2 separate regions of the Homo sapiens genome follow, and region 2 is linked to region 1. The links are contacts of gene promoters, found by promoter capture Hi-C in blood cells and fetal thymus (Javierre and others, 2016). All regions are on one chromosome and are shown on one strand. Each heading gives the region's core, a stretch centred on a gene start or on the middle of the fragment in contact. The rest is flanking DNA. Distances are from core to core; before and after follow the strand shown. Region 1 holds the start of CD14 (CD14 molecule). Region 2 overlaps SLC4A9 (solute carrier family 4 member 9).

Region 1 (7,187 bases), core at 2,712-5,211:
CTCGCACAAGCTGTTTTCTCTGCCTGCATCCTTCCCTTTTCTTTCTACCAGCATCCTTCCCTCAACACCATTCTCAACATGTCAAGTCCAGTGTCACCTACTCAGAACCATTGTACCAATGACCCAGCTTCTTCACAACCCTTTTCACAGCTATCATTAAGTTATAGTGTAATTATTTGATGTTGTCTCCTCCCAGACCCCCTTGGCAGCTCCAGAAGATTAGGGTCCCGGTGGCACCTAAGAATTTTTACAGGAAACCTCTAATTTTTAAAAAGCCATATAACTTAGGCAAAGGTTCAATTAAGTACAAATCTAGGAAAAAGGTTATTCTTAAAACCAATTTCTTTCCCTTGAACTTAATTCTACCCCTTGGAGTTAATCAATGAAGTCTGCAATCTCTTCCACAAAACAGCATGTTAAAATATCTACAGGCCATCATTCCATCCTCCATATCTTCTCTCCCAGTATCCATCCAGCCCCTGGAGAGCCATTTACTGAGTACCTGCTGTGCACCATGCTCTGGCCAGGGATAGGGCCTGGATCTTGAGCCCTTCCTCATGCAACTGTCTGGCTTCTTTTTTTAATTTTTTAATTAAAAAAAATTTATTTTCTTATTTCCCCAAGAAAAACTTTTTTATTTTTATTTTATTTATTTATTTTTTTTTTTGAGCCAGGGTCTTGCTCGGTTGCCCACGCTGCAGTGCAGTAGTGCAATCATGGCTTATCACAGCCTGGAACTCAGCCTTAAATGATCCTTTCAGCTTGGCCTCCCAAAGTGCTAGAATTACTGGCATGAGCCACTGCACCTAACCCAGGCTAGCTTCTAAGACCCACACTTGGCCCAGCAAGGTGGCTCATGCCTATAATCCCAGCACTTTGGGAGATGGAGGCAGGTGGATCACCTGAGGTCAGGAGTTCGAGACCAGCATGACCAACATGGTGAAACCCCGTCTCTACTAAAAATGCAAAATTAACCAGGTGTGGTGGCACGTGCTTGTAATCCCAGCTACTCAGGAGACTGAGGCAGGAGACTCGCTTGAACCCAGGAGGTGGAGGTTGCGATGAGCCAAGATTGCATCATTGCACTCCAGCCTGGGCAACAAGAGTGAAACTCCATCTAAAACAACAACAATAACAACAACAACAAAACCCACATGTGCTCCAGGTGGGGAAGATGAAAAAAGTTCCCAGCCAAAAGCTATATTCTGCCCAGTGTCTGCTCAGACAGCTACAGCTGCCCAAATTGCCTTTCTGTATCTACCTGTCTAGCAACACTGTTAACCCTGTAAGAACCAGCCCCATGTCCTGTCTTGTACAGGGCTGGCTGTTCCTTTCTCCAGACCATGTTCCTCCCCTCCACCCCTCTCCCCCAACAACACAAGCCTTTGGTTTCTCTTCTTTTAAGAGCCCTCTGCACTATGGACGGAAGTTCTGGGTTCATGTTTGCTCTACCCACCTCCTGGAGCACTTCAGGGACTTGTCTTTGTCATGTCTGTGTCCCAGGGCTTTCTACCAACCCTAGTACTCGGTAGACAAATGATAGACATTTGTTGAATCAAGCTGTGAGTTGGAGATCTTTGCAGAACCATCACTGCCCCTCTTAACTTGGAACTCCCCACCCAGAGTGCCTCCCCTAAGATGATGAGGTGTCAGACTTCAGTGGCCTGAGTTCTCTGAAAGCAGAGACTCTGAGAAAGAAGACTAGTCATCAAGACCACACTAAAAAGATGTGTTTCTGTGCCAAAGACTTTACTCACAAACAGGTAATACTATCATCTCCATTTTACAGAAGGGAGGCCCAAGTCTCATAACCTCAGTCGTAAAGCTGGGATTCCAAGACTGGCTATCTGACTTTGAGTCAGATATAATCATATCTTGGTCCTCAGGGATATCACAGAGGCCTGGCATGGCACCAGGGCATGGCCCAGTGCATTGGGGTATGCCCAACAGGACCCGCAGGGGGCAGTGATGAGCCTTCTTGTTTGGATTGGGGACAAATCTGCAGCTACTTCTTTCTCAATTAAAGAGGAAGTGGGAATTTAAAAAAGACTTTCTGCCGGGCACGGTGGCTCATGCCTGTAATCCCAGCACTTTGGGAGGCCGAGGCAGGTGAATCACCTGAGGTCGGGAGTTCGAGACCAGCCTGACCAACATGGAGAAACCCCATCTCTACTAAAAATACAAAATTAGCCGGGTGTAGTGGCACATGCCTGTAATCCCAGCCGCTCGGGAAGCTGAGGCAGGAGAATTGCTGGAACCTGGGAGGCGGAGATTGCAGTGAGCTGAGATCGCGCCCAGCCTGGGCAACAAGAACAAAACTCCGTCTCAAATAAATAAATAAAAGTAAAAAAGACTTTCAGGCCGGGTGTGGTGGCTCTCGCCTGTAATCCCAGCACTTTGAGAGGCCAAGGCGGGCGGATCACCTGAGGTCAGGAGTGCCTGGTCAACATAGTGAAACTCTGTCTCTACTAAAACTACAAAAATTAGCCGGGCATGGTGGTGGGCTCCTGTAATCCCAGCTACTCAGGAATCTGAGGCAAGAGAATTGCTTGAACTTGGGAGGCGGAGGTTGCAGTGAGCCAAGATCACGCCACTGCACTCCAGCCTGGGCAACAGAGCCAAACTCAGTCTCAAAAAAAAAAAAAAAAAAAAAGACTTTCATATAGTTCTTTCCCCAGAGGTCTAGGGATGTGGACCTGTGAGGGCTGTTGTAAATGCGTAGCTCCTTATTCTCTGGGACATTTGTTGTTTTTTTGTTTTGTTTTGTTTGCTGTTTTTTTCATTTTGTTTTGTTTTCTGTTTTTGTCTGTTTTTTGCGAAACTGGTGAGTTACTAATTAATCCTCATTCAACATAGTCCCATCCCTTCCTTCCTAGGGCACAGAGATTGTACTGAGGGGAGGGCAGGAGAGAGCAACGTGCAAGTGGGAAAACTGATTCAAAATACCTTGCTTCACAATTTCAGGACAGAAAATGGATAGTGTAAGTGACCCAGAGACTTGGCCAATGTGTCTCTGTTAAATACATCCACTTTTAAGAAAGTTAGTACTGCCAGGCACAGTGGCTCACGCCTGTAATCCCAGCACTTTGGGAGGCCGAGGCGGGTGGATCACAAGGTCAGGAGTTCAAGACCAGCCTGGCCAAGATGATGAAAACCTGTCTCTACTAAAAAATACAAAAATTAGCTGGGTGTGGTGGTGGGCACTTGTAATCCCAGCTACTCGGGAGGCTGAGGCAGAGAATTGCTTGAACCCAGGAGGCGGAGGTTGCAGTGAGCCGAGATCATGGCACTCTACTCCAGCCTGAGCAACAGAGCAAGACTCTATCTCAAAAAAAAAAAAAAAAAAGAAAGAAAGTTATTACTTAATCAAAGGAGCAAGGAAAAAAAAAGGAAGGGGGAATTTTTCTTTAGACCAACTTCCTTTTCTTGAACCTAATTCTACCCCCCTTGGTGCCAACAGATGAGGTTCACAATCTCTTCCACAAAACATGCAGTTAAATATCTGAGGATATTCAGGGACTTGGATTTGGTGGCAGGAGATCAACATAAACCAAGACAAGGAAGAAGTCAAAGAAATGAATCAAGTAGATTCTCTGGGATATAAGGTAGGGGGATTGGGGGGTTGGATAGTGCAGAGTATGGTACTGGCCTAAGGCACTGAGGATCATCCTTTTCCCACACCCACCAGAGAAGGCTTAGGCTCCCGAGTCAACAGGGCATTCACCGCCTGGGGCGCCTGAGTCATCAGGACACTGCCAGGAGACACAGAACCCTAGATGCCCTGCAGAATCCTTCCTGTTACGGTCCCCCTCCCTGAAACATCCTTCATTGCAATATTTCCAGGAAAGGAAGGGGGCTGGCTCGGAGGAAGAGAGGTGGGGAGGTGATCAGGGTTCACAGAGGAGGGAACTGAATGACATCCCAGGATTACATAAACTGTCAGAGGCAGCCGAAGAGTTCACAAGTGTGAAGCCTGGAAGCCGGCGGGTGCCGCTGTGTAGGAAAGAAGCTAAAGCACTTCCAGAGCCTGTCCGGAGCTCAGAGGTTCGGAAGACTTATCGACCATGGTGAGTGTAGGGTCTTGGGGTCGAACGCGTGCCACTCGGGAGCCACAGGGGTTGGATGGGGCCTCCTAGACCTCTGCTCTCTCCCCAGGAGCGCGCGTCCTGCTTGTTGCTGCTGCTGCTGCCGCTGGTGCACGTCTCTGCGACCACGCCAGAACCTTGTGAGCTGGACGATGAAGATTTCCGCTGCGTCTGCAACTTCTCCGAACCTCAGCCCGACTGGTCCGAAGCCTTCCAGTGTGTGTCTGCAGTAGAGGTGGAGATCCATGCCGGCGGTCTCAACCTAGAGCCGTTTCTAAAGCGCGTCGATGCGGACGCCGACCCGCGGCAGTATGCTGACACGGTCAAGGCTCTCCGCGTGCGGCGGCTCACAGTGGGAGCCGCACAGGTTCCTGCTCAGCTACTGGTAGGCGCCCTGCGTGTGCTAGCGTACTCCCGCCTCAAGGAACTGACGCTCGAGGACCTAAAGATAACCGGCACCATGCCTCCGCTGCCTCTGGAAGCCACAGGACTTGCACTTTCCAGCTTGCGCCTACGCAACGTGTCGTGGGCGACAGGGCGTTCTTGGCTCGCCGAGCTGCAGCAGTGGCTCAAGCCAGGCCTCAAGGTACTGAGCATTGCCCAAGCACACTCGCCTGCCTTTTCCTGCGAACAGGTTCGCGCCTTCCCGGCCCTTACCAGCCTAGACCTGTCTGACAATCCTGGACTGGGCGAACGCGGACTGATGGCGGCTCTCTGTCCCCACAAGTTCCCGGCCATCCAGAATCTAGCGCTGCGCAACACAGGAATGGAGACGCCCACAGGCGTGTGCGCCGCACTGGCGGCGGCAGGTGTGCAGCCCCACAGCCTAGACCTCAGCCACAACTCGCTGCGCGCCACCGTAAACCCTAGCGCTCCGAGATGCATGTGGTCCAGCGCCCTGAACTCCCTCAATCTGTCGTTCGCTGGGCTGGAACAGGTGCCTAAAGGACTGCCAGCCAAGCTCAGAGTGCTCGATCTCAGCTGCAACAGACTGAACAGGGCGCCGCAGCCTGACGAGCTGCCCGAGGTGGATAACCTGACACTGGACGGGAATCCCTTCCTGGTCCCTGGAACTGCCCTCCCCCACGAGGGCTCAATGAACTCCGGCGTGGTCCCAGCCTGTGCACGTTCGACCCTGTCGGTGGGGGTGTCGGGAACCCTGGTGCTGCTCCAAGGGGCCCGGGGCTTTGCCTAAGATCCAAGACAGAATAATGAATGGACTCAAACTGCCTTGGCTTCAGGGGAGTCCCGTCAGGACGTTGAGGACTTTTCGACCAATTCAACCCTTTGCCCCACCTTTATTAAAATCTTAAACAACGGGTCCGTGTCATTCATTTAACAGACCTTTATTGGATGTCTGCTATGTGCTGGGCACAGTGCTGGATGGGGAATTCATCATACTTAGGCTTTCTTCATCCTAACTCCCTAAGAAACCCTATCTGTCCTCCTCAAGAAAAGAACTGCGGGGATAGAAGGAGCCAGGAAAGGACTCCTGGCTAGGGCTGCATGGGAGAAACAATGAGTGTGCAGTCAGGGCTTTCTGAGCAGATTATTGGCATCTGGATTAAAAGGTATTTGCATGATATTTGGAAGATACAAAATATTTCCTCTCCTATGCACTTCCCAAGAGCCAGCTGCTCCCTTTCAAAGGTAATAAAACCCACAGCCATTTGCTTATTTCCTTATTCTTTCTCTCTCTCACACACACACACACTCACACACCCTCCCTCTCCCTCTCTGTCTGTCTCCCTTACCACTCAAGGAAGAGGGACAGCCTCCTATCCTGCACAAGCTCTGAGTTTCATAATATTAGGGTTCCTCTCTTGTAAAACCTCTCTTCACCCGGAGGCTTTCACTGTGTCACTCCCCGACATAATGGGAAATTTGGGCCTAGGGAACTGACGCAAGATACAGTCGGTCTCTGAATTAGAGATCCTGTGTTCTGTTAGAACACATATGCAGATAACCTTTTCAGGCTGACTGATTGGCAAATAGGAAAGCATCTCAGACTCTTCAAAACTTCAGAATAAACAGGATTTGTCCTCTAGTCCACATTAGCTCAGAGACCTACAGCATCAGCCATCAAGAGGTGCTGTTTCTTCTGAGCCCCTTCTTCATTTCAATGAGGAGGCAGCCACATCCATCAGAGAGCTAGATGCCTGCCTCACAGGGAGCATGGGAGAAAGGTGGGAGGAGGCATATAGGCCCAGCACCTGCCTCTGGCCAATGTCCAGAGCCACACAGATAGGAATAGGGAATGGAAATTAACATTGATAAGAGAGTTACAGACATTACCAGAACCAGACTCAAAATATGTCAGAAAACAGTTAAATTAGCTGGACACTCACTGGAATGTCCCCAAGGGGCCTTCAACCAGCCAGTTGAGAGATTTCTAGTATCAGAGAATTAATCATCTCAAGGCAGTTTTTTTCTTCCCTTGAATAGCTCTGATCACACTTCATCAAATGGTTACAGAACCACATTTCACCTCAGGCCTTGTGCTAAAGCCTGAAATACAAAGATGAATCAGAAACATCCATGCCCTTAGGGAATTCCAATCCAGTGGGGGTCGGGGGAACACATAAAAGATAGTTTTTTATGTGTGAGAAATAGCTGTGAGAATATATATAAATTTCTGTTGGTTAAGCCACCAGTCTATGGTATTTTATTACGGTAGCCTGAGCTGACTAAGGCAGTAGTGGTGATGTAACATATCTGATTGCAAAAAAAAAAATTTTTTTTAAAGAGTAATATATCTGGGCCAGGTGTGGTGGCTCATGCCTATAATCCCAGCACTTTGGGAGGCTGAGGTGGGCGGATCACGAGGTCAAGAGATCGAGTCCACCCTGGCTAACATGATGAAACCCTGTCTCTACTAAAAATACAAAAATTAGCCGGGTGTGGTGGCATGTGTCTGTAATCCCAGCTACTCAGGAGGCTGAGGCAGGAGAATTGCTCACTAGAACCTGGGAGGCAGAGGTTGCAGTGAGCCAAGATCACGCCACTGCACTCCAGCCTGAGCGAAAGAGTGAGACTCCGTCTCAAAAAAAAAAGGGAGCAGATATTGTTGAGGATTGATATGTTATACAGGTTGACTATCCT
Region 2 (7,187 bases), core at 3,498-5,997, 270 kb after region 1:
CCTCTTGTCGTCCTGCCAGTGACCCTTGTCTGACATTCTCCACACCCTCCTTGACTGCTTGCTGTCTTGGCTTGTTCAACCTTTTTGCTATTACTTGTTACTTAATTTTTGCTCATTTGTGTGTGTTGCTGGTAGGGGCTTAGTTCCATATTTCTTTTCAATATTCCACTGACCCGTACTTCTCCCAAGTGCCTAGCAGTCTTGCATATAGCAAATATTCCATATACCTCTGGTGAAGGAGAAGTGAAGGCTTTTTGCCTCAAAGTTTTTCTGTTGTTGTTTTTTGGTTTTTTTTTGTTTTTTTTTTTTGAGACATTCTTGCTCTTGTCATCCAGTGATCACCACCTACTGCACTCTCAAACTCCTGGGCTCAAGCGATCCTTCCACCTTAGGCACACACCACCATGCCCAGCTACCTTTTTTATTTTTTGCAGAGACAGAGTCTCCTTATGTTGCCCAGGTAGGTCTCAAACTTCTGCGCTCAAGTGATCCTCCCACCTCAGCCTCCCAAAGTGCTGGGATTACAGGCATGAGCCACCGCACCTGGGCTGATCATACTCTTAGTCTCAGGTTTGTTGGGAGGCTAGAGCAAGGGTAGCACTTAGACCCTAGGGGATGGTGGTGGCACACCCACACCTTGCTCCACTGGGTAAAAAGCCCATTGGATAAGCGTTTGAGTTCTCAGACAGATCTGAAAAACTGGCTCTTTTGATGGGCTCTTGCAAGTTTCTTTGCCTCTTTAAACTTCATCTGCCTCATTTGTAAGGTACATACTCCTTTCAGGGTTAATGTGAGGATTAAATGAGACCATGTATGGAGAAAACTTAACAGAGCACCTGGCACACTGTAAGTATTCAACTACTGTCAGTTCTTGCTGTGCTCCTATTATTACTACACTGACCCTGATCCTGGCTTGTATAACAAAGGTACCTTGAGCACAGGTGCCAGGAAGATGGAGGCTCCTGTAAGGATGAACACCACCAGGCCTGTCAGCCTCTGTTCCCTGTGGGGAGAGGGAGGAGTTAGCTGAGGTCTGGGAGAGTCCCTGGGGTATCCAGACTGGAGATCCTGGCTGAATACCAGTACAGACCCCGGCAGCAAGAGAAAACTAGAGGAATACCCCAGTAGGTCACCCAGAGGGATGAGCCCTTAGCTTGATGTGAAAAATTGGTGGAGAGGAAGGGGCAGAGCACTTCAAGGTGAGAGTCCCAGACCTCTCCATCAATTCAAGTTCATAGTTGCTCCTTATTTTTATTTTGATGGAAAATTAGCAATGTTTACACTGCCATAAAGACTTACATTTCACAATTTATCAAGTTGATTTCATATACTTTAGATACTTAGACTGTGCTTCCAACAGTTCCAAAATTGCTTTTATGATGGATTCCTTTGTAACTTCTACATTGAGTGAGGATTATTAGGTGGCACCTGACCCTCCACTTCAGCCCTGGCTGCCTCTACCTTTGCATGGATGATAATCCTCTTGAGGCCCCTCCCAGTCCCCATGGCTGAGGGGAGAGAGGGGAAGATCTGACTCACCCATCTCAGAGCCCAGAACTCACTCATTCTGCCACTGCAATGCTTGTGGGACACCAGCTTAGAATTTAAGCTGCCCAAGTAACTCTGCCATGTTCCCCTTTGCCTTACCTTGCTGCCCACCTCTTACTCCACTTCCTAAATACCGCCCTCACCTGATACCCAGGAAGTTGGGGCGCTCCCCGGGGGCACAGGCTCTGCTCTCTCTCCGAAGACTGTCCATGTGAGCCAGGGAGATGACAGTGGCTGAGACATACCAAGGCAGTCCAAGCGCTGATGTGAGTAGCATCAGCACAGCCACACAGAAGAGGTCCAGGTGGAAGCCAGCTCCCTTCTGCAGGTAGTGGTGGGGGCAATGAGGATGAAGCTAGCCCAGGCCCCAGCCCTCTGTCCTCTGAGGTAGGAGAGGAGGAGCGTAGACTCCCCTGGAGCTTCTGTCCCTTGGTCTTGGGCCTTACCCAGCAGGCCTTACCTGCAGTCTGTATTCCATGCGGTTGAGGATGACTGCTGTGATCTGTTGGTCCATGAAGATGAGGATAGACAGCAGCAGGGCAGGCAGGGCAGCTGCCACACTCCACCACCAGGGGTTGGCTCCAAAAGGTGACACCAGCCAGCCACGCCCAGGGAGTGTGGGCTGGAGGAGGGCATTTCATGGACAGGTTGGAGTGGGTCTCCCAAGAGCATCTCACCTGCACATCTCAACCTTGGCATTCTTCCACAACCTGCCCCCACCCCAAGTCACTAGATGCTAGTGGGCTGTGTGTGCATAGCTGGTTCAAAGCATCCCAGTGCCTTAAAAGACAGCAGATGGAAGGAGACCAGCCCTGAGGTCAGGCTGGAACCAGGGGCTCTGGACTTTGGTTCAGGGTCCCTCCCTCCCTGGAACAGAAGGAGGTGGCACATGTGGCCTACACACACTTCTTGATGTACAGAGCCCTGCTCCCTAGAGATCCCTCTCCCCCTATCCCGGGTGGGGCAACTCAGGCTCAGACCTGCCTTGATCTGAGGCAGGGACAGGGCTGGGTGTGTCTGTGTCCACGCTGATTACAAGCATATGTGTTGGGGAGGGGGCCCCAGTTGCTGCCCCAGCTGGATTCCTCCCTGCTCTCCTGTCTTGGGGGAATTTGGAGAGGAGGTCTCCAAATGCAAAGGCAAAGTCTAGAAATCAGTGCTAAGCCTTGTCCTGCACACTGTCATGCCCTGGAAAGGGAGTTCCAGCTTTCCTGGATCAGGGTAGGCAACGTGGGGTGGGAAGAAGAGAGTGAGGAGTAGTGGAGTGGGCAGGGCCACGCCAAGGGTGGGGCAATCCCGTAACAATAATAGCTAACATTTATTGAGGACTTGGTATGTGCCAGGCATGTGGTAAGTGCTTTCCACTGTGATCTTCTGTAAACCTCAAAACAATCTACGGGGTAGGAACTATTGTCATTTTATTATTTCCATTTTATAGACGAAGAAATTGAGGCTTAGAAATGTGCATTAACTTGCCTAATGCATAGCTGGGAAGTGGAAGAACTGGAACTCAAACCCAGGGCTGGCTGATCAGAACCCATTCTCTTAACCCATACCCTGTAATAATAGCTACCGTGTATTCTCTGTACTCACGTGTCTGCTGCAGTACTTCATTTAATCCTCATGACAACCCTGTGAGGCCATTATTATTACTATCTCTAGCTTATTAGTGAAGAAAGAAGCTTAGAGAAGTGTGGGATTTATTCATTTTCCTTCCCCATGGTCTGCTGGCCCTGCTTTCCCCTCTGGTCCCCCAACCCTCTTCCCTGGCTCTCACCTTGAACTCTCTGGGTACCATGAGCTTTGGTGTGGCTAGGCCCAGGAAAGCATCAAGGCCACAGCCGAGCAGGATGGCCAGGACTGAGGAGAAGTCGCTGAGCCCTTTGCGCACCTGGCACACAGTGGACACTCAGTCAGGTCCAGGCCTGCCATCTCTCTTTTTCCACACCACTTCCCATCACAGATAGGACCCAAAGCTTAGAGTCAGGCCTCTCCCACAGAAAGAAAGGTGAAACTCACCACAGAGGGGAAGAAGCGGCTGGTCTTTACACACTTGAGGGCCATAGCAAAGAAGAAAGAAGTAAGGAAGAGGAGAAGGGAGAAGAAGGCAATGTCTGGGACTGTATGACAGCCAGGGCCACGAGGGTGGCCTCCCTGCCGGGTGCACTCAGGTGGCGGCAGCAAGGATGCATTGATCAGGCCTAAGTCCTGTACACAGGAGGGTCAGGAGTGGAGTTATAGGCAATGGAGTAAATGTCCTGCTCTCCTGGACCAACTTCAAGGGAGGAGGGACCCACAGAGACACCAGGGGCCCAGGATGGGAAGTTCCCAGCTGTAGGAAATGGCTAAGCTTTACTCACCTATGAAGGTTTCCTTAACCTATGGGTAGGAAGAGCTAGAAACCACCGACTGCCTTGGTCTCCACCCTTTCCTTCCTAGAACCTCCCAGGAGCAGTCCCTCACCATGCTTACAATGTCGTCTCTGTCTTTTGGCCTTGTCCTTATCCATTGAGACTCATTTCCTGGGAAGCAGAGAAGAATTCAGATGTATGTTCCCTCCCCTGGGAACCTCCTCCAGCCCCATAAAATTCTTATCTGATGGGTCCAGGTGAACCAGAGTTCTTAATTGTGACTCATCTGTCTGCTGACTCTATCACTACCAAGTGTGCGAGAAGGACATTGTCTCATGCCCCCATCCTCTCAAATTCTCTACCCATCTGCATCCCTGGTACCAAGCACTGGACCTGGCCACAGTAGATGCTCAGCAAATGTTGGCTGAATAGAGGAGTATACAAATCTGTGTGTTTCCACCAGGGCTAGAACTGGTCTTGTTCATGCCTAGCACTGATAGGAGAACATATAGAGAGGCCACTTCTTCCCAGTCCTGGGGTTGCCTTCCATGTGGAGGGATATATGCAAGTGTAATACTCCAAGCCTCTCTCCACCTGGCCGGCCACTCTCACCCAGAAGAGCAGTGATATATTTGATTGGTGATTTCAGGAAATGAAGCTGGGCATACCTGGCCCTGCCCCTTTCTCTCCCCTCTCTCGAGTATAAGCTGCCTGTTTGATGTATGTATTTAGCTCTACTCCCCTGGGGTAAGATAGTCTCAAACCAGTGCTTCCACGACTGGTGGGTAAGTCTATTCAATTTTGGCTTCATCATTAGGAAGCCCATTCACCCACAGATATAACCCATGTTCCTTTATCAGTGTTGTCAGAAAGGAAGATGATATCAGGCCTTCTGTTGTCTTATTTCTCAATTGATTCAGAACCAGAGTGTAAATAGTACTGCCAGTTATTGGGTAAGTATGCAGCATTTTGCTGAACTTAACCAGGGGGGATAGTAAGGGTGCAGCCCCTCCCCTTCCCTACATCCTTCTTCACCTGACCAAGGTCCCTGTTTCCCTTACCCACCTCCTGGGCCTGGGTATTGGCAGAGGCACCCGTAGGCAGAGGACCCAGGCTTCTGGATAGGATAGGTATGGGTCAAGTTCAGCATTTTGCCCACAGCATCGTAGATGAAGATGAGGCTGATGAGGGCACAGAAACCTTCCTCAGTGAAGCGGGTGAAGTAGCGCACCAGCACACTGGCCTCTGTGGCCACCAGCACCAGGCAAAAGGTAGCCACCCAGATGCCCACCCATAGGCGGAAGGGCAGGTAGTCCAGGCTGTAATCTCTGTGGGGATGAGAGACAGGAAGGCTGGCTTAGCAGGGCTGTCTGCTTCCCACTAAACCCAGGTCAGGTGTCCCTCAACCCAAACAGATAGCTCCCACTCTCTCCTATTCACCCAGCCAGGAGCAGGCTGACCATGGCACTAGTGAGGGTCCGGTGATGGGGGGAGCTCTCCTACCTGCTGAAAGAGAAGAGCAGGCGCTCAAAGACCAGCACTGGCCCCGTGCTGCTCAGAATGGTGAGGGGCTGGCCTGCCATCAGGCAGAAGGCAGCTCCAGCCACTGCTGTGCCCAGGAAACTTTCCAGCACTCCCTGGAAGCCAACAGGGGCTCAGCACAGGACCCTGAAGTCCTCGGGGTCCTTTGAAGCTTTGGGAGAGCCTCCTTAACTTACCCATAGTCCCAGGGGAAGGGATGGACTAGGGGACACCAACGCTTGTGCCTGCCCCCTGGGCCCTACCCACCTGGGCACCATCAGTGGCATCTCCCAGCAGACCCCCAAAAGTGATGGCATTAGTGACAGTGGCCAGGTAAATGTAGAGTACGGCCGAGAAGCACTGGAGATGCAGGGCGTCCAAGAAATCGCTGGGGTACCACGGGACCTTCCTGCGCACGTCCTGGATAAGGCCCCCAAACAGCCTCCCGCCCGAGGGTCGTCAGTGATCCAGGTTTTCACACTCCACACCCGCATCCCCGCTACTTTCCCTGTGACCGGGTGAGCCCCTCCCACAGTGAGCACACACCTCAGTTTCCCTGTGACTCCTCCCCTCCCCCAGGTCACCTACCCTTGTTTCCTCCCAGCTCGCCTCACCTGCCGGTCCGCTGCAACTCCGGGCTGTGTGCGTGTGGCCCATGGCGGTGCCTGTCCTCAGCCGAGGTCAGGCGCGGGACGGCGGGACCTCTGATCTCCCGCTGTTGCGAGGGAAGCCTGAGGAGGAGGGGAACCCCAGGTTGGCTGAGGATCTCCAACCAGTCTGCGACTCGGTCCAGAGCTCGTGGCGCCCTGCCCCCTAGCGGCTGCTCTTGTCTCTGCCGGCGAGGGAACCATGGCGACACCTGGGCCTCTAGAAGGTCCAGGTCATATTGCGACCTGTGAAAGCCAGGCTCGGGCAGGGAAGGTCTTTGTTCAGGTCTCTTAGCGAGAGAGTAGTCCAGCAGAACTCAGAGTTAGGTCTGCCTGACTCCAAATCCAAAGATAGGTCCCTATCTCTTTCCTGGGACACCACCCCTCCTCAACAATGGAATTAGACCCAGGGCCTATATGGGCAGGAATCTGTATGGGATGATGGCTCCCAGGTACCTTTTGTGCTGAGATGGCAGACATTTGGGCGGGGGAATCCGGGCTGTTGGGTCCCACCGACCTGGGGGAAGCACTGTCACCTCCTCTAGGAATGCATCCAGGGCTGCCAGAAGGTCATGAAGGTTGCTGGCCCGACGAACTGACCACTGGAATTGCTGGGAATGGGGGCACAGAATGGGTGGTAAGTGCAAACCTGGTCTCTTACATGCATTTTCATAGTCTCAAAACTAGACAGACACAAGTCACAGAGGCAGACAAGTCATTCACACATTCCTTTATGCATGCATTAATTCATTCATTCAGTGGGTATCTATTGAGTGCCTACAGTGTGCCAGCACTCATCCAGTAATGGGGCTGCACTAGGAGACGAGGAAACTTCAGTCTCAGTGCTCACTGTGCCTCATTGCTGTATTTAGGGACACATACAGAGTCCACACACACACACTCACATGAGCCCATGCATGTATGCATGTGTGCACACACACACAGGCATGCACGCGTGCGCGCGCACACACACACACCTGCTCAGCTCACCGGGTCACTGAGGAGGACAGCTGCTGCCCGTCCCATCTCATGGTAGCCCTTTCCCAGCATACAGGGGCCCAGGAGAAGGCAGAAAAACCTGAGGAAGGAACCAGGCCCCAGAGATTCACAGGCTGCTTTC

The links. The method cuts DNA at HindIII sites, captures the fragments that hold promoters and counts their contacts. A CHiCAGO score of 5 or more calls a contact.
Region 2: a fragment that was not itself captured here is called in contact with the fragment with the promoter of CD14 in region 1 in 1 of 17 cell types (endothelial precursors); the score reaches 5.7 in endothelial precursors.

Annotation. Positions count from the first base shown.
Region 1 is chr5:140,629,949-140,637,135 of GRCh38, reverse strand. It overlaps CD14 (CD14 molecule), which reads left to right and starts at 3,961. Exons shown (of 2, transcript NM_000591.4): 1 at 3,961-4,067; 2 at 4,156-5,404. The coding sequence starts at 4,065. The coding sequence ends at 5,280. It also overlaps a transcript of TMCO6 not described here. RefSeq lists enhancers at 4,317-4,816, 5,029-5,088, 4,817-5,318. The HindIII fragment of the contact is 16,691 bases long and covers 1-7,187 here.
Region 2 is chr5:140,362,403-140,369,589 of GRCh38, reverse strand. SLC4A9 (solute carrier family 4 member 9) reads right to left here. Exons shown (of 22, transcript NM_031467.3): 6 at 7,058-7,145; 7 at 6,524-6,678; 8 at 6,035-6,151; 9 at 5,688-5,862; 10 at 5,403-5,536; 11 at 4,965-5,227; 12 at 4,012-4,070; 13 at 3,568-3,756; 14 at 3,326-3,439; 15 at 2,009-2,170; 16 at 1,692-1,870; 17 at 931-1,003. Among named protein-coding and RNA genes, the nearest start is that of SLC4A9, 5.8 kb to the right of the region's middle. RefSeq lists enhancers at 5,970-6,515, 6,386-6,535. The HindIII fragment of the contact is 1,694 bases long and covers 3,901-5,594 here.